7 separate regions of the Homo sapiens genome follow, and regions 1, 2, 3, 4, 5 and 6 are each linked to region 7. Evidence: promoter capture Hi-C in 16 types of primary human blood cells and fetal thymus (Javierre and others, 2016). All regions are on one chromosome and are shown on one strand. The core of a region is centred on a gene start or on the middle of the fragment in contact, and the rest is flanking DNA. Distances in the headings are between cores, read along the strand shown.

Region 1 (3,361 bases), core at 612-3,111, 220 kb after region 7:
TTGTTAACATTTTGGTGTATCTCTCCAGTTTTTTTTTTCAAACGTGTATATTAAATATTTTGAACACACTATTTGCCTCTTTTATCTTTGTGTTAATTTTTTATATCCCTTTTCAAGGCTACATAGCATTTTACTGTGTAGATAGATGCATTATGGGATTTTTTTTTTTTTTTTTTTGATGGAGTCTCGCTCTGTCTTGCCCAGGCTGGAGTGCAGTGGCGTGATCTTGGCTCACTGTAACCTCCTCCTCCCAGGTTCAAGCGATTCTCCTGCCTCAGCCTCTAGAGTAGCTGAGATTACAGGTGCCCACCACCACGCCTGGCTAATTTTTGTATTTTTAGTAGAGATGGGGTTTCACCATGTTGGCCAGGCTGGTCTTGAACTCCTGACCTCAAGTGATCCACCTACCTTTGCCTCCCAAAGTGCTGGGATTACAGGTGTGAGCCACCGCACCCAGCCTGCATTATGGGATTCTTAACCTGGGTACATGGATAGAATTCAGGGGGTCCAATAATTTAGACAGGTAAAAACTTGTATCTTCACGTTCAGTGATGTTTAACTGAAACGTAGCTTTTTTTTTTTTTTTTTTTTTTTTTGAGACGGAGTCTCGCTGTGTCACCCAGGCTGGAGTGCAGTGGTGCGATCTCCACTCACTGCAAGCTCTGCCTGCCGGGTTCATGCCATTCTCCTGCCTCAGCTTCCTGAGTAGCTGGGACTGCAGGCGCCCACCGCCATGCCTGGCTAATTTTTTGTATTTTTAATAGAGACTGGGTTTCACATTGTTAGCCAGGATGGTTTCTGTCTCCTGACCTTGTGATCCACCTGCCTCGACCTCCCAAAGTGCTGGGATTACAGGTGTGAGCCACCAAGCCCAGCTGCATTTCTTTTAACTGTAAGTTTAGGCAACAAGTCACAATATTAGCAGGACCTAATAATTTGGTATCAATAGGATGATCAGACAATTCATATTGATTCCTTTACAGGCATTGTACATACCTTGACATTTATTTACTATTTCAATATTATTACTATTTTATATGTTTTGAAACATTTTTCTTAGAAGGTTTATTGGTTTTAGCAGACTGCCAAATGGTTCATGATACAAAAAAGGTTAACCTCTGGCATTCAGTTTTCGTATTTTGGAGTTTGTTTAAATAGGTGCCTATTTTATACACTTATAAGAAGTACCTGAAGTTAAAGCTTTTGCCTGCATCTGTGATTATTTGGACATAGGATAAATTTCTAAAAGTAGTATTTCTTTATCAAAGAATAAATCTTTTGAAGCTTTCAATGTTTTTGTCAGATTGCTCTCCAGAATGTTGTACCAATTTACCCTCTATATGGAAATACCCTGCCTTCCTGTTTTAAATAACTGGCTTTTATATTATGTAGATGCAGTCGTGATTGGCACTGTAAAGGGTCTCCAATTTGATGTACTGTTTAAGGAACTTCTGCAGACCCCAATTTGAACAGTGTAGTGTCAGGTAAAGTAATGTTTCATTGTGTTTTGGTTATACTAGTTTTACTAAAACTAGTTGTTACCTACAACCTAGATGGCATGTTGTATTCAAGGACTCTGAACCAGAGTCTTCAGGATGGCGTGCTTCAGAACTCCCCCATACCATAAGCAGTAGATTGGATGATGCTAGCCTTGAATCAGCAGTCGTCTTTTTTGCTCTCCATGGGTAAGAAGTAAAATTATCGCCTTTGAAAATAATATATGCACATAGCAGCGAAATCTTAGAAACACCCGAATGTGAAATTGACTTTCTGCTGAATAAGTAGCAGATTGTGGAGAGAGTAGTGGGGAGGGTGAGGGAGTTAGTGTTAAGAATTAAACTCCTACAGCACTTTGGGAGGCTGAGGCGGGCGGATCACAAGGTCAGGAGATCAAGACCATCCTGGTTAACATGATGAAACCCCATCTCTACTAAAAATACAAAAAATTAGCTGTCGTGGTGGCCAGTGTCTGTTGTCCGAGCTACTCAGGGAGGCTGAGGCAGGAGAATGGCGTGAACCCGGGAGGCGGAGCTTGCGGTGAGTCCAGATCACGCCACTGCACTCCAGCCGGGGCAACAGAGTGAGACTGTGTCTCAAAAAAAAAAAAAAAAAAAAAAGAACTCCTAGTATGATGGGATAGGTTTAGTACACAGTATGGGGACCTGAGTGCAGAAAAGGGATCCTTTGCTAACTTAATGATAAAACAGGTCTGAGTAGGGTTATTATGTATGAGTGTAGACCTGGGTCTAGAAAGTGTCCCATTGTGGGAGAGAGGTCAGGGGATCAGTTAGTCCCTGTATTTGAGACCAACAAATCGAGATTTGGATCTTCTGCCTTTTAGTAGCTTTGTCGCTTATGGCCATCTCTGAGCCTTGTGTGCTTTCTAGTAAAAAAAGACGGGATGGCGAGGAATTTGACAAGGTGGTCTTTAAGCTTCTTTCCTGCTTTCTTTTGTGGCTGACTTTCTTAGCTGGTGCCAGGATATTAAGGGCTTTTGTCCCAGAGATTTTTATCCTGCATGCAGTAGTTACTTGTTTGGTCTATCCTTGCTAAAGGGCCTGAATTACGCAGAACACTCCCGTTTGTAAAAAATCAAACACCAAATTAGAACTTACTTTAGTAAAATGTGGGGTATGTTGGAACGCTGTTGATACAAAGCTCATAGAATAGGAAGGAATCACTGGAAAGCTAGGGATACTGAATCTGTGGCCTCCAATTTTGTCTATTTCTGTCTTTCCTCTGCTCATTTCCCAGTGTGAGTTTCATTATCTCCTTTTGCAGAGTTGCCAGTTATGAGAAAGGGTATATGCTCACATCCTTTGGCATCATGGACAATCAGGAAATAGTTCTTTTTCCATTATATACAGTTAGAAAAATCTCAAGGAAAGATACCCAGCTAGCTTGGCTTAAGTCATACCCATACCTGGACTGGTCTCTGTAGTCATGGGAATGGGTAATTCTTGCCCAGCTTGAGTCAGATACTTACCTATGGGACCATCACTGTAACCAGTGAGGTAGAATGCTGCAAGAAGATGCCATTGTCTTTAGGACCACTTGGATGGCAATTCAACAAAAGCAATTCAACAAAAACCTGGTGTCGGGGAGATTTTTAAAAACATTGGGGATTCATGAATTAGGCAACAGCAATCTTCAAACATTTGGGTACAACCTAATTTTTAAAAAAAATGTACACCGCAATGAGATACCAGTTTACACTTGTTAGGATGGCCATTATTAAAATGTAAATTGTCGGCAAGGATATGGAGAAATTAGAACATTTGTGCATTGCTGGTGGGAATGTAAAATGGTACTGCTGCTGGGGAAAAGAGTGTGGTGCTTCCAAAAAAAATTAAACATAGTG
Region 2 (3,120 bases), core at 90-2,589, 250 kb before region 7:
TAACTTTATGAGGTGTAGGTTTTCAAAGTAAAGGTTTTCTTATTATCACCATTTTTAAGTAAGGAAATTGAGGCACAGAGAGGTGAAGTAACTTGACCAAAGTCATATAACTAATAAGTGATATCTCCGTATTTTTTCCTCTTTTGAATTTGTCATTAAAATCTAATAAATAAGTTGATATTCATAAGATTCTTTATTGTCCAAGGAGTTTTAATGCATGTAGAGACGATCACTTAACTACTTTTATTTTAAAGGTGAGATATAAATTCAGAAACCAATAAACTAAACTTTGGCAATTAAAATGCAGATACTGGTTCAGTAGGACCAGAATAGGGCCTCAGAGTACATTTCTAACAGGCATTCAGATGACACCAGTGTTTCTGGAGTACATGTTGGGTAGCAAGGATTAACAGGTGTCACTATGAGAAAAAAAAAACTTTTCAGTATCTTATTGGTCTGAGATTCCAGTATTACATTTTTCACTGGTGGGGTCATGTGAATTAGCCCATAAATTGTCATGTGAAACTTCTTGTTCCTGCTAAGTGAGTCATTTGAACTGAGCATGTTCATTTACTTAAGAGGGCCTTTGCCAGCTTCTCTCTAAAGCAAAGTGCCAGTATACTGTACCAGCATGATTTATAGAGGGAAAAACACTTTTTATGAAGTGTTATCAAAGAGAATGCCAAAGTCAAAGTCCGTTTTGAGAAAATTTATTTTACCCTAAATAGCAGCAGTAGATTCCATAGGAAATTTGATATTGCCTGTGTAAGGAGTGACAGACATTTGCTACCCTGAATAAGATAATTTTTATAGAAAATTGTTTTTCCTAGAGTGAAAGATCAATTTTTATATGAACACCAACTAAAAATATAGTTGAGTTGGCCAATTAAAATGTCTTTTGAGGCTGGGAGTGGTGGCTCACACCTCCCAGCACTTTGGAAGGCGAAGGTGGGCAGATCACGGGGTCAGGAGATCGAGACCATCCTGGCTAACACAGTGAAACCCCGTCTCTACTAAAAAAAAAAAAAAAAAAAAAAAATTAGCCGGGCGAGGTGGTGGGCGCCTGTAGTCCCAGCTACTCGGGAGGCTGAGGCAGTAGAATGGTGTGAACCCGGGAGGCAGAGCTTGCAATGAGCCGAGATCACGCCACTGCACTCCAGCCTGGGCGACAGAGCGAGACTCCATCTCAAAAAAAAAAAAAAAAATCTGTTGATATTAGAATTTCACTTTATAAAAATGTACTACTTCATAACTTGAAAATGTATAACTGTGATCCTAGACTAGATGCCGTAGTAGAAGGAAAAATGTTATTAAAAAACGTTGGGGCAAGTGACAAAACTGAAATACAGCCAGTGGATTAGGTAAAGATATTGTATTGATGTTAAATTTATCAAAATTAATTACTATGATTATGTAAGAGAATATCCTTAATCTTAGGAAATTTAAGAGTAAAAGCCCTTCAAACCTGATGGCTCACACCAAAAATCCCAGCACTTTGGGAGGCCGAGGTGGGTGGATTGCTTGAGCCCAGAAGTTGGAGACCAGCCTGCACAACATGGTGAAACCTTGTCTCTATTAAAAAATACAAAAACCAAGCACGGTGGCCCATGCTTGTAATCCCAACACTTTGGGCAGGTGGATCGCTTGAGGTCAGGAGTTGGAGACCAGCCTGGCCAACATGGCGAAACCCTGTCTCTATTAAAAATTCAAAGATTAGGTGGGTGTGGTGGCAGGCGCCTGTGGTCCCAGCTACTCAGGAGGCTGAGGCAGGTGAATCCCTTGAACCTGGGAGGTAGAGGTTGCAGTAAGCCGAGATTGTGCCACTGCACTCCAGCCTAGGTGACAGTGAGACCTTGTCACTAAAAAAGAGAGTAAAAGGCCATGATGTGTGCAACTTACTCTCAAATAGTTTAGTCTCTCCTCCCAGATAGATGTGTGTGTGTGTGTGTGTGTGTGTGTATATATATGGAAAAAAAATTAATAAATGAGGCAAAATGTTAAATAATATTTAGATAAATCTGGATAAAGGGTATATGGGTTTTCATTGCACTATCTTTTCAACTTTTCTATAAATTTGAAATTCCAAAGTATTTGTGTGTCTAAACAAAAAAGGTGCAGTTAAAAAAAAATAAGGAAATTCCAAATGAAAAATAGTTTGAGGGAAAATTGCATGAGATAGATTTAATATTTATTAATACAAATTTTTTATTTAGTGCTAAAATTTATTTAAAATTTGACAAAGCAAATTATTGTAAACAGGCTCAGTGTATAATCTAGGAAGTGCATTTTCAAACATTCGAGTATTCTATACATATTTTATGTTATATGTAAATGTTTTAAACTTAAAATATATATATATATAATTTTTAAAATATACTTAAATTTAAAAAATTTAAAGCCAGTGTGTTTAATGTTTTCTTTTCTCCCCCATAAAACACATGATAATTGTTTAGATATTTATCAGTTGTTCAGTAGTATCTGAATTATTGAATACTTTAAAATGAATTTTACTTTAAAATTAAATGAAGAGTCATCATCATGCCAAATAATTAGTGTCATTTATGATATGGTTAACTAATTGGCAGTATTCTCAGAAAGTTTCTGCCCAAGCCAACATAATACCTTTGGGCATTTAGTGTTTGCCCATCCTCTAAAATGTGAAGAGAACTAACCCCAGGCCAGAATGAAAGGTTGGTCATTGGCATGCCTATCATCATACCTCCTTTTTCAGTGTTTCAGCTTTTTAAAAATCTTGCTTGAGTTTAACTTGGACTCCCCCTGCTTATAAACTGTTTTTTTTTTTTTTGTGGGGGAGGGTTATAACATATGTATTGATAAAGCACATATTGTAAGCTTGACTTCTAACATCTTAAAGCCAAAATTAGTTCTTCTGGAATTCTACAGTACATATTCTTGCTCATTATATATTCTGGCTTTTTTGCTCATCATTAGGTTTGTGTGGTTCATTTATATTGGTTTGTGTAGTTGTAGATTGTTCATTCTCATTGTTGTATAATATTCCGTCATGTGAATTTTATGTATTTGTTCTTGTGTTGTTAGACCTAATTTTGCTTAGGTTTCCAGAGCTGTCATGCTCTAAAATTCTAGTACCCTATTCTC
Region 3 (3,052 bases), core at 232-2,731, 240 kb after region 7:
TTAGAAGATAGGAATTTGCTGGACACTTGGACACCAGAGCTGGAGGCACTTGGTAAACCTCAGACTTTCCATGATCCCTTGTGTTCTGGAGGCCAGGAAAGAACAGAGCAAAGAGGTCAGGGCCTTGGCCGTTATTGGAGATTGACTCTAGGACTTCTCACCACCCCTCCCCCTCCTCTAATCCATCTAGGTTAATACTTGACATTTGGAATTATGAAGTTGTGTGCCCCATGATGGGGAGTGGACTTTGAGATGAGACACTGGCCTGCATTATAAGGGACCTGTCATTTCCACTGGATTTTAGTTTGTGTGGCTTAAAGAGAATGCCTTTCCAGTTAGGTATGCTCGTGGCTTTGAATATAAATGGGAACAGTCTAACGCTAGCTATTTTGCTCCTTTCCTTCTGATTCCCAGCTGGTGGAAATCGGTGCTGCGTACTCAGCAACCTTACATAGGGCAGGTATGGTCTCATGAGCTGGGAGCAAGACAGGTTTTCTTTCTTGAAATGAGGTCCCCCCACTTCCCTTTGTCTTTGCTGCTTTGCTGCTTTCTTTCCATTGTCTTTGCTGCTTTCCTTCCTTTGATCTGTAGACACTCAGAGAACTGCCTGGCCAGACCCTATAGAGGTACAATTAGGTCACTCTAGGGCATCTGACCATGGGTGGCAGTTTCCACAAAATTCACTTGTTCTGTGGGTTGAAGGAAATATCAAACCAGCTGGCAAGTTCTAGGCCTCTTGTCTTCTTGGTATCTTCTAGTCAAATTTACAGTATATCCCTTCTGATTTAATATTTGCAGGAAACTGATGCATGGAGATGCTGACATCCCACGTGTTAATTCTGGGGCACCCTGATCCTATTCTCTAGGATGGCATTGCCCCTTTCTGAGCCATCAATCCAAGTCCTTTCCCCGTTTTTCTATGTGGTTGGTATATAATTCAGTGAGACACTCTTTCTTGCTCCTGTACTTGAATGTAGGAGTGTATTGCAGTGGCCCTGAAGATCCCAGTAGAGTCTGGGGAGGGTTGATTAGGACAGAGTGATTTCCACCCTGCCCCTCCTCAAGCAGAGGAGCTTTCTTCAACCTTTTTCTCTTTGAAGAAATTGAGACTCAGGGAAGAAGTATTGTCGCAGATGTGATGCGGTGAGTCACTGGTTTTTAAACCTCTGTTTTGGCGATGGGCTGGGTAGGGATGAGTTAAGGTTTATTCCCCTAAATCTGTATTACACTCTAAGTCAACATTGTGTCCTTAGGCTGGGCGCAGTGGCTCACGCCTGTAATTCCAGCCCTTTGGGAGGCTGAGGCGGGTGGATCACAAGGTCAGGAGATCAAGACCATCCTGGCTAACACGGTGAAACCCCATCTCTGCTAAAAACACACACACACACAAAATTAGCCGGGTGTGGTGGCAGGTGCCTGTAGTCCCAGCTACTCGGGAGGCTGAGGCAGGAGAATGGCGTGAACCCGGGAGGCAGAGCTTGCAGTGAGCTGAGATCACGCCACCGCACTCCAGCCTGGGCAACAGAGCGAGACTCCGTCTCAAAAAAAAACAAAACAAAAAAACAAAAAAAACCATTGTGTCCTTAAATTGAATATCCTTGATAGAAAAGGGTAGGGCCTTAGCGTACTGGCTCTATGGAATACGTACTCTCTGTCTTTCAGTAGAATTCAGCAGTCATTGTTCACCTGCTTTTTGCCAGATGTTGAGCTAATTGCTATTGGAGTAGGATGGTAAAGATTGGTCTTGGTATGCTTGGTTGAGAAGGCACAACTTTTTACACATGTGGGCCTGCAAATATCTATGCAGATTTTTTTGAGACTTTAAAAAGCATGTTTAAAAGATTATTTCTTCTAATAGAGACTCCAAAAGTACTCAATTACTGTCTTATCCTCTGGGATCCTAGTTCCTATTACTTGTGCTTGATTTCCCTCTGCTGATTAGATAAGTTACCTTGAAAGAGGCAAAGAAAGCCAAATGGGAATTGACTTGTTTTTCTTCCTGTCATTAAAAAAAAATGGAAATAATTTCAAATTTATAGAAGTTATACAAATAAAATTATACAAAGAATATTTGTAATCCTTTTTATCCAGAACCTCCTATTGTTCGTGTTCATTTTACCCCATTTGCTTTATCATTTGCACATTCTCTCTCCATGTATCAATACATAATTGTTTTCTGAATCATTAAGAGGAGAGATAATTGGCCCAGGCACGGAGGCTCACACCTGTGACCTGAGTACTTTGGGAGGCTGAGGCAGGAGGATTGCTTGAGCCCAGGAGTTCAAGACCAGCCTGGGCAACAGAGTGAGATCCTGCCTCTACCAAAAAAAAAAAAAAAAAATTAGTCAGACATGGTGGCATGCCGCTAGCTACTTTGGAGGCTGAAGTGGGAGGTTGAGACTGCAGTGAGCTGTAATTGTGCACCTGCGCTCTAGCCTGGGTTACAGAGGGAGACCCTTGCTCAAAAAAAAAAAAAAAAAAAAAAAAGAATAGAGATGATCTTACATACATTCATATGTAACAAAACAGTTAACTTTAGTCAATTTAAAGTTGATAACACTACTTTGATTAAACTGTCATTCATATTCCAGTTTTGTCAAGTGACCCAGTAATGTCCTTAAATCCTTAATAACATTTTTCTCTTTCTGCTCTAAGTAGGCCCTTGCTCCTTTTGGTTTTGCTCCGTGTGAGCTTACAAAGTCCCTTGGGTTGTCTTGAATGTTTTTCACAGTGATCAGCTTGTTCTAGCCATCACTTTTCCTGAAACTATGATAATCCTTACCATTCTTTTTTTATATTCTTATTTGTTCATGGTTACTGTGTCTGTCTTGCCTCTCTGTGTTGTCCTCCACTCCCACCCAGTGTTTTCAGAGAGAAGGAACTCTTAAGTAAATGTCCTATATAGCCTTGTTGATTTCTTTATCTGATGCCTTTTTTTTCTCTTAAGTATTTACCATTTTAGTGTGAGAACTGTATTTAAATTATAACCTCCAGTCTTTTTTTTTTTTTTGAGACAGGATTTTGCCCTGTTGCCCAGTCTGGAGTGCAGTGG
Region 4 (3,130 bases), core at 397-2,896, 190 kb after region 7:
CATGTAGACTCTAGATGTTGTCATACTTCAAAATTCCAGTTGATATAGCTGTAAATCCAACTTGATTTTGTTTTCTTTATATTATAAAATATTTTCTGAAGTTAAAATAATACGTGTAGCATATATGATCTGGCATCAACCCAGAGTAAGTTTCTAGAATTGTGTCCCAGGGTTCTTTCCCTTTATGCCATTCTGTCTGCTGTTTCTTGACATTCCATGCATATTATATAATTAAAATCACTGACAGATGAAGTTGTGCAATGAATGCTCTTCTGCTACATAGTTGACAACTAAATTGACTGTCTTCCTAGAAAAAATTATTTTATTCAAAGTTGGCTTGGTTGTCACTTCAGAAACTTTATAACACTGTCCTGCCTCCAATGTTCTGTAGTCTGTCAATCTGTGAGATGAAGCAAGGTCCTTCTTGGCTCTTCGTGTTTATTTGTGGATCCATCATGTGGTGGTGTAAACATATACATTCTTAAAATGGGAGGATAGGGTACAGTTTTGAAAAAACATTGTCCGTTTCATAATAAACCCAAACAAAGATAGGGTACAGGCTCTGAATGCAGATGACCTGAGAACAAATTCTGGTCGTGCTACTTACTTGCTGTGACCTTGGCTTACACTCTGAGTTTAAATTTCCTCTTTAGACACATAGGTAGAAATAGTACCCATTTGTAGGGGTTTTGTGAAGCTTAAATAAGATTTGTATTGAATACTATCTACAATGATGCACATAACTGCACTTACTAAATGGTGATAGTGATTGTGATAGTGTGGGTATATAAAGATGCAGTTGTGAGAGCGTTGGCTGAGGTCATATATATATATACACACACACACACACACACACACACACACACTTATATTTTAAAGAGTTGAACTAGGTTTTCTGTTTATACTGTAAGTCTCTTGAAGAATGTGTAAGGACTAGGTCTTAAATATCCTTGGGTTTCGTTTCGTTTCTTTCTTTCTTTTTTTTAAAGATCTTTTGAAATCCTTGGATTTCTAATCCTCAGTATTGGGCCTGGTGCATGTTAGGTAACATTATACAATTGCTTAATGAATACATTCTCTCAAACTGGGTGCCTAAGCTGAAAAAGGCCCTCATTTTGTGTTCAAATTGTACTCCCCCCCACATTTGGTACTGATAATATCTAGGAATTTACTTGCAGTTTTGTGTGTATGTATGTGTTCACAATCAGTATTTATTTAGACTTCAGTAATTTTTAGTGATTACTTAGATTATCATTGTGTTTTGTTTAATTCTTGGACTAGTTTGATGGACTTTTCCAAATTGTTAAACATAGAATATATGGAAACTTGCATAAAACACCTGTATATTTTAATCAGTTATACAGCAGACACCCACATAACCACTACCCAGGTCAAGAAATAGAATATTACAGCTGGGTGCAGTGGCTCGTGCCTGTAATCCCAGCACTTTGGGAGGTTAAGGTGAGAGGGTCACTTGAGCCCAGGAGTTCGAGGCTTCAGTGAGCTGTGATAATGCTGCTGCACTCCAGCCTGGGAGCAAGACCCATATTTTTATGTGGTTAGGAGTGACGAAGAGGACGCTGGGAGCCTCCCGAGGAGGCCAGTCCCTTTCCAGCAGCCCCTGGGGCCGTCCCAGGGTAGGGAGTCTTAGAGCCCCAGGGTCCCACCCAGGGTGTGTGTCTCTCTCCCGGTGGGCTTCCCCAGGCATCAGCAAGGCCACTGCTTGGCGGAGGCTTGCCGGCAGGGACTCAGAAGCAGCGAGGCTGAAGAGGATCCTGGGAGCCTCCCAAGGAGGCCAGTCCCTTCCTGGCAGCCTCCCGGGCTGTCCCAGGGGGGCATTGAGGGGGGAGCGGGGCGGGGTGGTAGAGTTCCAGGCTCCCATCCAGGGTGAGTGTCTCTCTCCCCGGGGGGAGCTTGTTTCCAGTCTTAGGGGAGGGGTTGTGAGTGAACTTCTTAGCATTTCTCCTTTAAATATGCTGAAGTTGTGAATGTTTTTTATCTGATTAAGAAAGTTCTTTTCAGACTTTGCCAAGAGGCTTTTAAAAAAAGAAAATCTGCAGGATGCAGTGGCTCATGTCTATAATCCCAGCACTTGGGGAGGTTGAGGTGGTTAGAGACCAGCCTGGGCAATGTAGTGAAACCCCATCTGTACAAAAGTATGAAAAGCCGGGTGTGGTGGCACGTACCTGTAGTCCCAGTTACTTGGGGCTGAGGTGGGAGGATCGCTTGAGCTCAGGAGGTGGAGATTGCAGTGAGCCAAGATCGTGCCGCTGCACTCCAGCCTGGGTGACACAGCCAGACACTGTCTCCAAAAAAACAAAACAAAACAAAAAAACCCCCAAGAAAACAAACATAAAATCATGAATGTTATTAAATTATATCAGCTTTTCTGCATCTATTCATTTAACCTTTCTCCTTTATTCTATAGATGTAGGAATAACATTCAGGAAAGAATACCAAAGTAAAGCCAACTTCGCATTCCTGGAATTAACTCAAGTTGTTCATAATATATTTTATTTAGTATATTGTTTGGATTTCATTTGTAAATGTTGTCTTCAGGATTTTTGTATTCATGCACATAAGAGATAAGCTTGTAATTTTCTTTCCTTAAAATATCCCTGGTGTCAGAGTCGTTAGCTTCTTGAAGCAAATCATTAGCTTCTTGAAAAGTTTTTTTTTTTCCTCGCTGTTCTTGAGAAGAGCTTGTGTGAAATTTATAATAGTCTTCCTTAAATTTTGATATAATTCATTGCTGAAGCCACTTGGGCCTGGAGTGTGTTTTTGTTTGTTTTTGTTTTTTTGAGGAACAGTTTTTAAAATGTGGATTCAGTTTTTTGTTTGTTTGTTTTGTTTGTTTGTTTGTTTGTTTGTTCTTTTTTTTGAGACAGAGTCTCACTATGTTGCCCAGGCTGGAGTGCAGTGGTGCAGTCTTGGCTTACTGCAACCTCCGCCCCCCAGGTTCAAGCGATTCTCCTGCCTCAGCCTCCTGAGTAGCTGGGATTACAGGCGCCTGCCACCTGCCCAGCTAATTTTTGTATTTTTAATAGAGATGGGGTTTCACCATCTTGGCCAGGCTGATCTTGAACTTCTGACCTCATGACCCACCCGCCTTGGACTCCCAAAGTGCTGG
Region 5 (3,350 bases), core at 555-3,054, 220 kb before region 7:
AAAATTGACTGAAGAAGAAAAGCCTGAATAGACCAATTACCATGGAAGGAATTAAAAGTTATCAAAGAACTGTCCCTTCACAAGGTGGTTTTTACAGGTGAGTTTTGTCAAATCCTCAAGGAACAGTTAGTTTCCTTGAGCATTAAAAGAATAAAGTACTACTTGGTTAATTATTGAAGGAAGCATAACCCTTATATAGGCATCAGACTAGACAAAAAAAATTCTAGATCAATCTCAATATAAAGAAGAAATTTTGTGTAAAACATTAGGATATTGAATCTGTACCTTCGAAGAATAACACTGTATGACCAAACAGAGTTTATTTGGAGATTGAAAGAATGGCTCAGTGTTAGGAAATGTATTAGTATAATTCTCACAACAGATCAAAGAAGAAAAACAATTTAATTTCAATAGATGTCAGAAAGGCTTTTGATAAAATTTCACCTTCCTTCCAGATATAATTCTTACTAGATTAGGCCTAGAAGAATACTTGTTTGACATGATAAACTATTGAAACCTCAAGATAGAGATATCCTTGCTGTTTAAAGCAGTGTTATTATAATTCTGATTGATTATTTGCTAATGGCATTATGTACATTAGTAGTTCACAACTCTATCAAACCCAGTTCTCTCTTTTTTTAATAAATATTTTGTAATTCCCACTTTACTAACCTGAAATAAAATTCATAGATAATATGCTTTATACATTTTTTAATTGATAAGTGATCTAGTTATAATATAAAGGGGAATAAATGTAATTGATAGTAAAATATGTAGTTCAATACATAGACTTTGGGCAGGACAACACTGGAAGGCAAACTGAAGTAGTTAGTTGCTGTACATATATGCATCACCATGATGAGACAGTTTCAGCTGCACAGTACAGGCGTGTTATGTCTTAAATATCATGAGCAGCATTGCTGCCACTTACGTTTTCTTTAAAGGTTCCAGGTAAAAGAGTATATATAGTTGGTCCTACTCATAGTGTCTATTTCTGAACTTGCCTACTGGCTGAAATTTATCTGTAACCTGTAAAGTCAATATTCGGGGCACTTTCTTAATCGTTTTCAGCAAAGACTTTAGTTGCCAGACCAGCACGTTTCCAGCTGTGGCTGAACAAGGCAAGGCTCTACTTTCCTGGTTCAGCTCTCCTACAGAGGTGGAGAAGGGGAGGGGCAGTGCAGTGGAGTGCAAGAAACTCTGGCTCTTGGGCAGGTTGAATGGGGCTTGAAGGCCAGCTCTGGCACCTCTTAGTGGGGCAGCCTCAGACAAGTCACTTAACACTTCCAAACTCTGTTTTCTCTTTTGTGGAATAAAGAAAATAGAATATACTAGGACGAGGTGTTTGTTTGTTTGTTTTGAGATAGAGTTTCGCTCTTGTTGCCCAGGCTGGAGTGCAGTGGTGCGATCCCGGCTCACTGCAACGTCCACCTCCCAGGTTCAAGCGATTCTCCTGCCTCAGGCTCCCAGGTAGCTGGGATTACAGGCATGTGCCACCACACCTGGCTAATTTTGTATTTTTAATAGAGACGGGGTTTCACCATGTTGGCCAGGCTGGTCCCGAACTCCTGACCTCAGGTGATTCACCAGCATTGGCCTCCCAAAGTGCTGGGTTACAGGTGTGACCCACCACGCCTGGCTGGATGAATTGTTTTTAGGACTTAAGATTATAATCTATGCGAGGCGTGTATATGTGTGTATATGTAGACATACATACATACACACACACACACACACACACACGTATTTCCCCTAGGAGCAGTGGTTTAGTATTTGCTAATTCTGTATATTAAATATAACTTCCACAGATAATGAGAATTGACTGTATATTCCTTCTGTTTATATGGTAGTTGCCTCTTGTAAAAGTCTGAATATTAAAATTGCACTAAAAGGCTGGGCACAGTGGCTCATGCCTGTAATCCCCACACTTTGGGAGGCCGAGGCGGGCGGATCACCTCAGGTCGGGAGCTCGAGACCAGTCTGACCAACATGGAGAAACCCCGTCTCTACTAAAAATACAAAATTAGCCAGGTGTGGGGGCACATGCCTGTAATACCAGCTACTTGGGAGGCTGAGGCAGGAGAATTGCTTGAACCTGGGAGGTGGAGGTTGTGGTGAGCCAATATTGCACCATTGCACTCCAGCCTGGGCAACAAGAGCAAAACTCCGTCTCAAAAAAAAAAAAAAAAAAAAAAGCACTAAAAAATCTGGTTTATAAACAAAATGGAATGAGGTTCAAGGCTTGTAGTTATAAACAGATTTTTTACCTACATGAATTCTGGCAAGACACTTAAAAGTTGATTGAGTTATGGGAGACTGTTCTGTGCATTTCAGGAAATCCAGTTTCCCTAGTTCCTTGCCAGTAGTGCCCCCCTAAACCTTTGTGAAATCGAGTATGCCTCCTTGGGGGTGGAACTCGTTTTGAGAACAACTGGTCCACCTAGGTAACCTCAGTATCAAGCTAAAAAACTACTAGAACCAATAAAAGAGAATAGTGGCCACTTATAAAAAGTATATTTAAAAACCATTGGTGTTCCTGTATGTCATCAAAATTCAGTTACAGAGATGAATAATGGTGACAGTTGTACAATGATATGAATGTATTTAGTGCCATTGAACTGTACACTTAAAAATGGTTAAAATGGGCCAGGCGTGGTGGCTCATGCCTGTAATCCCAGCACTTTGGGAGGCTGAGGCGGGCGGATCACAAGGTCAAGAGATCGAGACCATCCTGGCTAACACGGTGAAACCCCGTCTCTACTAAGAATACAAAAAATTAGCCGGGCGTGGTGGTGGGCACCTGTAGTCCCAGCTACTCGGGAGGCTGAGACAGGAGAATTGCGTGAACCCGGGAGGCGGAGCTGGCAGTGAGCCAAGACCACGCCACTGCACTCCAGGCTGGGTGACAGAGTGAGACTCCATCTCAAAAAAAAAGAAAAAATGGTTAAAATGGTACATAACTTTACCACAAAAAAATTATAATGTAAAAGAATTTAGTTATAATTGAGTAAATATCATTAAATATTTTGAGTATTATGTTACTATTACAATATGTTACTGTATTGTAGTAATTTTATATATCACTATATATGTTGAATATTACTGTAGTATTGTGAATAATCCCATTCATAACAGTAACATAATATTAAGTAGTAGGATTAAACCCAGTAAGAACTATAAAGTACATTAGCTTTATGAAGAACTGGAAAAGTTTGAGTAGAATCAGACTTTAATAAGGACAGTGTCTTCCAAATTAACCTATGTATGTTAGAGAATTTCTTTCAGAAGTCACATACTATTTTAAGGTAGTGGAGAATGGCTTGGCAAAATTCTTTTTTTTTTTTTTTTTT
Region 6 (3,035 bases), core at 80-2,579, 200 kb before region 7:
ACACATTTGTGTGTGCTTAAAATTGGTGTATAGTAAGTGCTCTGTAAATATTTGTTAAGTAAACATTATTAAATTTTAAAAACACTCAAGATATGTGTCACATAAGAGGTGAACCTAGTCCGGGGCTCTCATTTTCCTGTTGAGGAAACCCTGCACAACCTTGTACAATCTAGTAAGCTGCCCTGTCCATACACTTCTTCAGTGACATTGATGAGGCTGAAGGCCATCTATGACTCCCTGCCTGGGGCTCTTCACATACCAAGGGCAATTTCCAGTTGCCTAAATCCAGGATATTCCCCAGGGCTCTGTAAGCCCATCTTGGTCGGCAAGATTGGGTCAATAACTTTTCTTCTCTGGATTTATTTCCTGTAATGGTAGGGCCATTTTTATCATGTTCATGTTCCTTAAATGTGATTAGTTTAATCATTCATTTCTTCATTCAACAGTTTTTAATTGAAAATCTGTGTGCCAGGCAAATGCAAAAACTCTTTTACAAAATGTCCTTGCTTCATGAAGAAAAAGAACTCCTTAAGGATAAAGTCCACACTATTTTCATTCCAGATTTGACAGCAGAGGCTGTAAATGTAGCTATTGCAGCACCTCCATCAGAGGGAGAGGCTAATGCTGAGCTCTGTCGGTATCTTTCCAAGGTCCTAGAACTCAGGAAGAGTGATGTGGTTTTGGATAAGGTAGGTCTCGCTCTCTTTTTTTTTTTTTTGAGACAAAATCTTGCTCTGTCGCCCAAGCTGGAGTGCAGTGGCGTAGTCTTGGCTCACTGCAACCTCCACCTCCTGGGTTCAAGCTATTCTCCTGCCTCAGCTTCCTGAGTAGCTGGGATTATAGGCGCATGCCACCATGCCTGGCTAATTTTTGTATTTTTAATAGAGACGGAGTTTCACCATGTTGGTCAGGCTGGTCTTGAACTCCTGACCTCAAATGATCCACCTGCCTTCTCCTCCCGAAGCGCTGGGATTAGAGGTATGAGCCACCATGCCCGGAGGTCTCTCTCTTTTTAAACTTCTTTAATTATTTTCTTTTTTTTTTTGAGACGGAGTCTCGCTCTGTTGTCCAGCCTGGAGTGCAGTGGTGCAATCTTGACGCACTGCTACCTCTCACTCCTGGATTCAAGCGATTCTCCTGCCTCAGCCTCCTGAGTAGTTGGGATTACAGGCACCCACCACCAGGCCCACCTAATTTTTGTATTTGTAGTAGAGACAGGGTTTCACCATGTTGGACAGGCTGGTCTTGAACGCCTGACCTCAGGTGATTCACCCACCCCGGCCTCCCAAAGTGCTGGGATTACAGGCGTGAGCCACTGCGCCTGGCCTTATTTTATTTCTTTTTTGAGATGGAGTCTTGCTCTGTTGCCCAGGCTGGAATGCAGTGGCGTGATCTTGGCTCACTGCAACCTCTGCCTCCCAGGTTCAAGTGATTCTTCAGCCTCAGGCCTCCCAAGTAGCTGGGATTACAGGTGCCCACCACCACACCCAGCTAATTTTTGTATTTTTAGTAGAGACGGGGTTTCATCATGTTGGCCAGGCTGGTCTTGAACTCCTGACCTCAACTGATCTGCCCACCTCAGCCTCCCAAAGTGCTGGGATTACAAACGTGAACCACCATGCCCAGCCATGTTTGATTATTACATATTAATGATGATTCATAAAATACTGATTTTTCTTTGTCTTTTTCAAATAATTGGGAAACTAGTTGTTTATAACTTTTATATTTACTTAATTGCATAAATCTGTCAATTCTTCCTATTTAGTCTCCTTCATGCCTGCTGCCTTAATCCTTACTGAGACTATCCACACTGTGTGCCTATGCTTCTTCACTGCCGCTGTTGCCAGTGTTTTCTCCTTTCTGAATTCATTCCTGAACCTGCTGTCAGATTAATCTTGCTTAGCTCTCTCATCCTTTAAGTCATCACCACGCTAAACAATCTAAAGCAATTCCTATTGTTAGTCATCTCCATGAGGGACTCCGTCAAGTACTTTGTCCTTGCTTGCTAGGAGAAGCTCATTGGGAAGATAGAAGGTTCATATGATGTCATTAATATGGTTTTGCACTAGGGGTGGAGATCAAAGTCACCTGGGAATGATTTCTAAATACAGATCCCTGGGTATCACTCTAGGCTTCTTGAAATAGAATCTGCAGGAGGGGGGCCCAGCCATGTTTATATTTCTTAAAGCTCTGCTTGTTTTCCAGTGCTATACTATATAGCTCCTATCCAGGTTCCAGCTGGCATTCACAGTCATTGATTAACAGACTGCACCTAAAAATCCATTTGAATGCTCCCCACCTGTGGCAGGTCATTTCTGATTTTTGGCTAGTGCTCATGCGCTGACGTTTGCCTGAAAGATGTTCCTCATTCTTCTGCCTGTTCAAATTCCACTCATCTAAATAAACCCCTTCTCAAATTTTATCTTCTTTAAAGGCTGTGTTTGAAAACAAATCCTTTCTTTTTCTTTTGGGACGGTGTTTTCGCTCTTGTTGCCCAGGCTAGGGTGCGATGGCGCAATCTCGGCTCACTGCAACATCCGCCCCGCGCCCCGCCCCTCCCCGGTTCAAGTGATTCTCCTGCTTCAGCCTCCCGAGTAGCTGGGATTGGAGGCGCGCGCCAACACGTCTGGCTAATTTTTAGTAGAGACAGGGTTTTGCCACATTGGCCAGGCTGGTCTCGAACTCCTGACCTCAGGTGATCCACCCGCCTCAGCCTCCCAGAGTGCTAGGATTACAGGTGTGAGCCACCACACCTGGCCAACAAATCCTTTTTAAAGTTTTAAGTGGTTGTGAAATCGTGGCACTTGGATATGTGGCTACTTTTTGTTTGGAATTTTCAGAAATGTTTAACAACATAGAGAATAGCAATTTGTTTATATTTATAATTATTTTACTACAAAGTTTATATAAAATTGCAATATTTATTTTGGTATTTTAAAGATGATTTTCATTTTTAACTTAATTGCTTGAGACTAGAATATCATTTTTTAGATTTTTTTTTTTTTTGAGATGGAGTCTTGCTCTGTTGCCCAGGC
Region 7 (3,436 bases), core at 196-2,695:
CTCCCAAAGGCCACATTTCCAAATACCATCACATTGGGGATTTGGTTTCAACATGGGAATTTTAGGGGAATATAAACTGTCTATAGCATATGTATATATATGTATGATGGTTAATTTTAATGTGTCAACTTGATTGGGTCACCAGGTGTTTAGTCAGACATTATTCTGGGTGTGTGTGTGTGATGGTGTTTCTGGATGAGATTAACCTTTGAGTTAGTAGACTGAGTAAAACTGGTTGCCCTCCCTCATGTGAGTGGGCCTCATCCAATCGATTGAAGGTCTGAATAGAACAAAAGCTTGAATAAGAGGGAATTCTTCCTGCCTAACTGCCTTCAAGTGGGAATATGGGTTTTTTTCCTGCCTTCCAACTCAAATGGAAACATTGGCTCTCCAGGGTCTTGAGCCTGCTGGCCTTTGGACTAGAACCACACCATTGGCTCTCCTGGATCTTCCGCTTACTAACTGCAGATCTTGGGACTTTTTGGTCTTCATAATTACATGAGTCAATTCCTTATGATAAATCTGTTTCCATATATGTATACATTCTATTGGTTCTGTTTCTCTGGACAACTCTGACTATTACACTGTGTGTGTGTGTGTGTGTGTGTGCGTGCGTGCATGTGAGAGAGAGAGAGGAGAGAGAGATTATACTGTTATGCTGGTCTGTGGGCTCAGCATCAAAGTAGGAATTTTGCAACACACCCACAGTTAACACTCACTTTTTTCCTCAACACCTAGACTCTTTCAACTTCTTAACAGAGTCAGAATTTTGGAAGAAAAGAACATTAACACTAAATTGTCATTTTATAAATTATTAAACTAAAGCTTAGAGAAATAGTCAATCATAGTCCATAAGGAATGTATTGGCTGGATAGTCCCATTTCTATGCCATACCATGGCAAGTAAAAAAAAAAAATAATAATGTTTGCTTAAGGCTTATATGGGAAGTGTGTCCTGTGCTTTGATTAGAAAAGTGCCCCCAAAATGTTTTTTAACCTTGTATGGTTCATGAGCACCTCTGAGAATCTATTGAAACCTGTGAGTTCTCTTCCCGGAAGTGATTCTATAAGGACACAGACATAATTTTGCATATAATTTTAGAAACTCATTCACTTAAAAAAAAAAAAAAGGAATCTTCTTCCTGGTCTTGCCGTGACAGTCCCCAGCCCTCTCCACATGACCAGCCATCTGAGACCCATGGTAGAGCCACAAGTCTAAAACCCCTCACAGCACAGAAAGTAACTCAGAGCACGGCATGTGACCTCTCCTGGTGACACTTGAGTAGTAAGAAGTGGCAACTCAGCCACAGCAGGTCTATATTTGGACCTTCACTCATGGCAGGCCTGTTGCTATTTGTGGCTGCAGCCAGCTCATGTTACCATCCAGCTTTGGTGCCCCACTTGCAGAACTCTGGTGTAAAATAGGCAGGGGTAGCCTGTGGGGCATGCAGAGGTCACTAGGAAGGAAAGCCTGCTGAACACAGATTCAATTTTCTAGCAGAACTCCAGGTCCTCTGAGTTAAAGGAAGCATTTATGGACGCTTAGCAGGCAAGTTTTGGGGTAGTCATATTCTTCCAATGCAAATTGTATTATTAGAAACTCAATGCTGCAATATTAATGCAATATCTTTCCTGTAGGTGGGAAGAGATATCATGGTAAATTGCAGATGTTTAAATTACAATAAATAGTGTAAATGTTTTCTGTGCCTTCTTAAAGCAAGAATTCGCATTAACTGAACATGATGTTGGGACAGGATGTGAGAGGCTCTGATGAAGGCAGACAGGGGCTGGTGATTCTTATAATGTGTCTTTAGGATATCTGTAGTGCTGGGACCCATTAGTTAGAACCATTTGGTAGAACAGTTTGGAAATATAGATGTTGAATATCATCTGGCTATACTATTGTGTTGTAAATACATTTTATTTAATCTGTGTGTACATGCTGAAAAATAATAACTTCATGCATTGATTCAAATACTAAAAAACAGCATCGTAATTATTTTTCACTTGTTATGCATACAGCCTCCTCCTATAGAAAGTTTTCAGGTTCGGGCAGTGTCTGCAAAGCTGATTTGAATCATTTCATATCACTGTAACACTTTAAGGCAAGCTTTCTTTCACTGCTGTGGCTCAGGAATTGCCAAGGGCTGCATGGAAGAGCTAAAATTATAGGCAAAGTTATGTTCCTGCCCTTATGGAATCACTTCTGGGAAGAGAATTCACAGGTTTCAGTAGATTCAGTAGATATGCCCATGATCCATAAAAGGTTAATAAACAAGCCAAGTGAGGTGGCAGATTGCATGAGCCCAGGAGTTCAAGACCAGTCTGGGCAACATAGCAAGAACCTGTCTCTAAAAAAAAAAAAAAAAAAAAATTATTGGGGGACTTTTCTAAGTAATGCACAGGGATACACCTCCCATATAAGCCTTAGACAAACATCTTTTTTATTTTTTTTAACTGCTTCCCTTGGCATAGAGGAAAGGGTATCCAGCAAAGACATTCATAATGGACTATGACTAATTGCTTTACTTCTCTAAGCTTTAGTTTCACCATTTATAAAATGACAGTTTATTGTCAACTTTCCTTTCTCCCCAAATCCTGATTTTGTTAAGAAAGAGTCTAGGTGTTGAGGGGAAAAGTGACTGTTAACTGTAGGGTGTGTTGCAAAATTCCTACTTTGACACTGAGCCAGTTTGTGTTGAGACCACTTTGTGTTGTGTGTTCGAAGGGCAAGTGCCAGCTTGAAAGCATGTGTTCTTATCTGTATTTGCACTAAGTGTTTTCCAGTCTTCTGACAGTTCAACTTGGTGTTTCACATTCCAGCTTCTGGTTGAAATAATTTCTCATGATGATTTATTGGTCATACAGAATCCTGGCTATTTCCCTTTGGGTAGCACATGGGAATGTAAGCATTATTTTAGTGAACTGCTCCTCTGTCTGTAGATGGTGTGATTTAATGGAAACCTGGGTTTGAATCCAAGCTCTTCACCTGACTGGTTGTGTGTCAGGTGAAAAGCTTGGATTCAAGCACAGGGCTAAATACAGAGTAGCCCAGATACATTTTTGTAAAAGAAAATTGGCTATAAGCAAGTCCTTTATCCTCACAAGATCTCAGTTTTGCCATCCTAAAATCAGGAATTTTTTTTAAACATCCATGACCTGCTGAATAAAATCAGGAAATTGAATTAGATGCTCTCCAAGGGACCTCCATCCCTAGAATACCATATCTCTGCCTGGGCCCCCTGGGAGAGGAATGATCTCATAGCTGATGTCTGTGCGTGGTTATGAGGCTGTTCTGCTTGGTGCCTTCTTTCATCATCGGCTGTTTTCAAGGGACAAATATTCCCACAGTAGCCATGGATGATTCCACACTGCTGTGGTCACTCTCCATGAGTGACTAGGTAGAAGGCTTCTAGCCCAGGTGGGAGATACTAAGG

The links. The method cuts DNA at HindIII sites, captures the fragments that hold promoters and counts their contacts. A CHiCAGO score of 5 or more calls a contact.
Region 1: a contact is called between a fragment that was not itself captured here and the fragment with the promoter of FSD2 in region 7, in 5 of 17 cell types (naive CD8 T cells, total CD8 T cells, naive B cells and 2 more). The highest score is 6.8, in naive CD8 T cells.
Region 2: a fragment that was not itself captured here is called in contact with the fragment with the promoter of FSD2 in region 7 in 9 of 17 cell types (naive CD8 T cells, total CD8 T cells, non-activated CD4 T cells and 6 more); the score reaches 8.7 in naive CD8 T cells.
Region 3: a contact is called between a fragment that was not itself captured here and the fragment with the promoter of FSD2 in region 7, in 9 of 17 cell types (total CD8 T cells, non-activated CD4 T cells, naive CD8 T cells and 6 more). The highest score is 8.0, in total CD8 T cells.
Region 4: a contact is called between a fragment that was not itself captured here and the fragment with the promoter of FSD2 in region 7, in 1 of 17 cell types (naive CD8 T cells). The highest score is 6.9, in naive CD8 T cells.
Region 5: a fragment that was not itself captured here is called in contact with the fragment with the promoter of FSD2 in region 7 in 10 of 17 cell types (total B cells, naive B cells, total CD8 T cells and 7 more); the score reaches 11.6 in total B cells.
Region 6: a contact is called between a fragment that was not itself captured here and the fragment with the promoter of FSD2 in region 7, in 16 of 17 cell types (total B cells, naive B cells, naive CD8 T cells and 13 more). The highest score is 26.0, in total B cells.

What each region holds. Positions count from the first base shown.
Region 1 is chr15:82,581,494-82,584,854 of GRCh38, reverse strand. The region is part of intron 3 of CPEB1 (cytoplasmic polyadenylation element binding protein 1); the gene reads left to right. Among named protein-coding and RNA genes, the nearest start is that of RPS17, 43 kb to the right of the region's middle. The HindIII fragment of the contact is 1,149 bases long and covers 1,287-2,435 here.
Region 2 is chr15:83,050,717-83,053,836 of GRCh38, reverse strand. All of the region lies in intron 2 of BTBD1 (BTB domain containing 1), which reads left to right. The region is part of intron 1 of LOC124903542 (a long non-coding RNA gene); the gene reads right to left. Among named protein-coding and RNA genes, the nearest start is that of BTBD1, 15 kb to the left of the region's middle. The HindIII fragment of the contact is 3,032 bases long and covers 1-2,855 here.
Region 3 is chr15:82,562,793-82,565,844 of GRCh38, reverse strand. All of the region lies in intron 4 of CPEB1 (cytoplasmic polyadenylation element binding protein 1), which reads left to right. Among named protein-coding and RNA genes, the nearest start is that of RPS17, 24 kb to the right of the region's middle. The HindIII fragment of the contact is 4,848 bases long and covers 1-3,052 here.
Region 4 is chr15:82,612,585-82,615,714 of GRCh38, reverse strand. All of the region lies in intron 3 of CPEB1 (cytoplasmic polyadenylation element binding protein 1), which reads left to right. Among named protein-coding and RNA genes, the nearest start is that of CPEB1, 33 kb to the left of the region's middle. The HindIII fragment of the contact is 1,893 bases long and covers 700-2,592 here.
Region 5 is chr15:83,025,363-83,028,712 of GRCh38, reverse strand. The region is part of intron 5 of BTBD1 (BTB domain containing 1); the gene reads left to right. All of the region lies in intron 1 of LOC124903542 (a long non-coding RNA gene), which reads right to left. Among named protein-coding and RNA genes, the nearest start is that of C15orf40, 15 kb to the right of the region's middle. The HindIII fragment of the contact is 7,754 bases long and covers 1-3,350 here.
Region 6 is chr15:83,006,202-83,009,236 of GRCh38, reverse strand. It overlaps C15orf40 (chromosome 15 open reading frame 40), which reads left to right. Exons shown (of 4, transcript NM_144597.3): 3 at 562-689. Among named protein-coding and RNA genes, the nearest start is that of C15orf40, 3.9 kb to the left of the region's middle. The HindIII fragment of the contact is 4,494 bases long and covers 1-3,035 here.
Region 7 is chr15:82,804,078-82,807,513 of GRCh38, reverse strand. It overlaps FSD2 (fibronectin type III and SPRY domain containing 2), which reads left to right and starts at 1,445. Exons shown (of 13, transcript NM_001007122.4): 1 at 1,445-1,548. RefSeq lists an enhancer at 1,062-1,161. The HindIII fragment of the contact is 1,284 bases long and covers 828-2,111 here.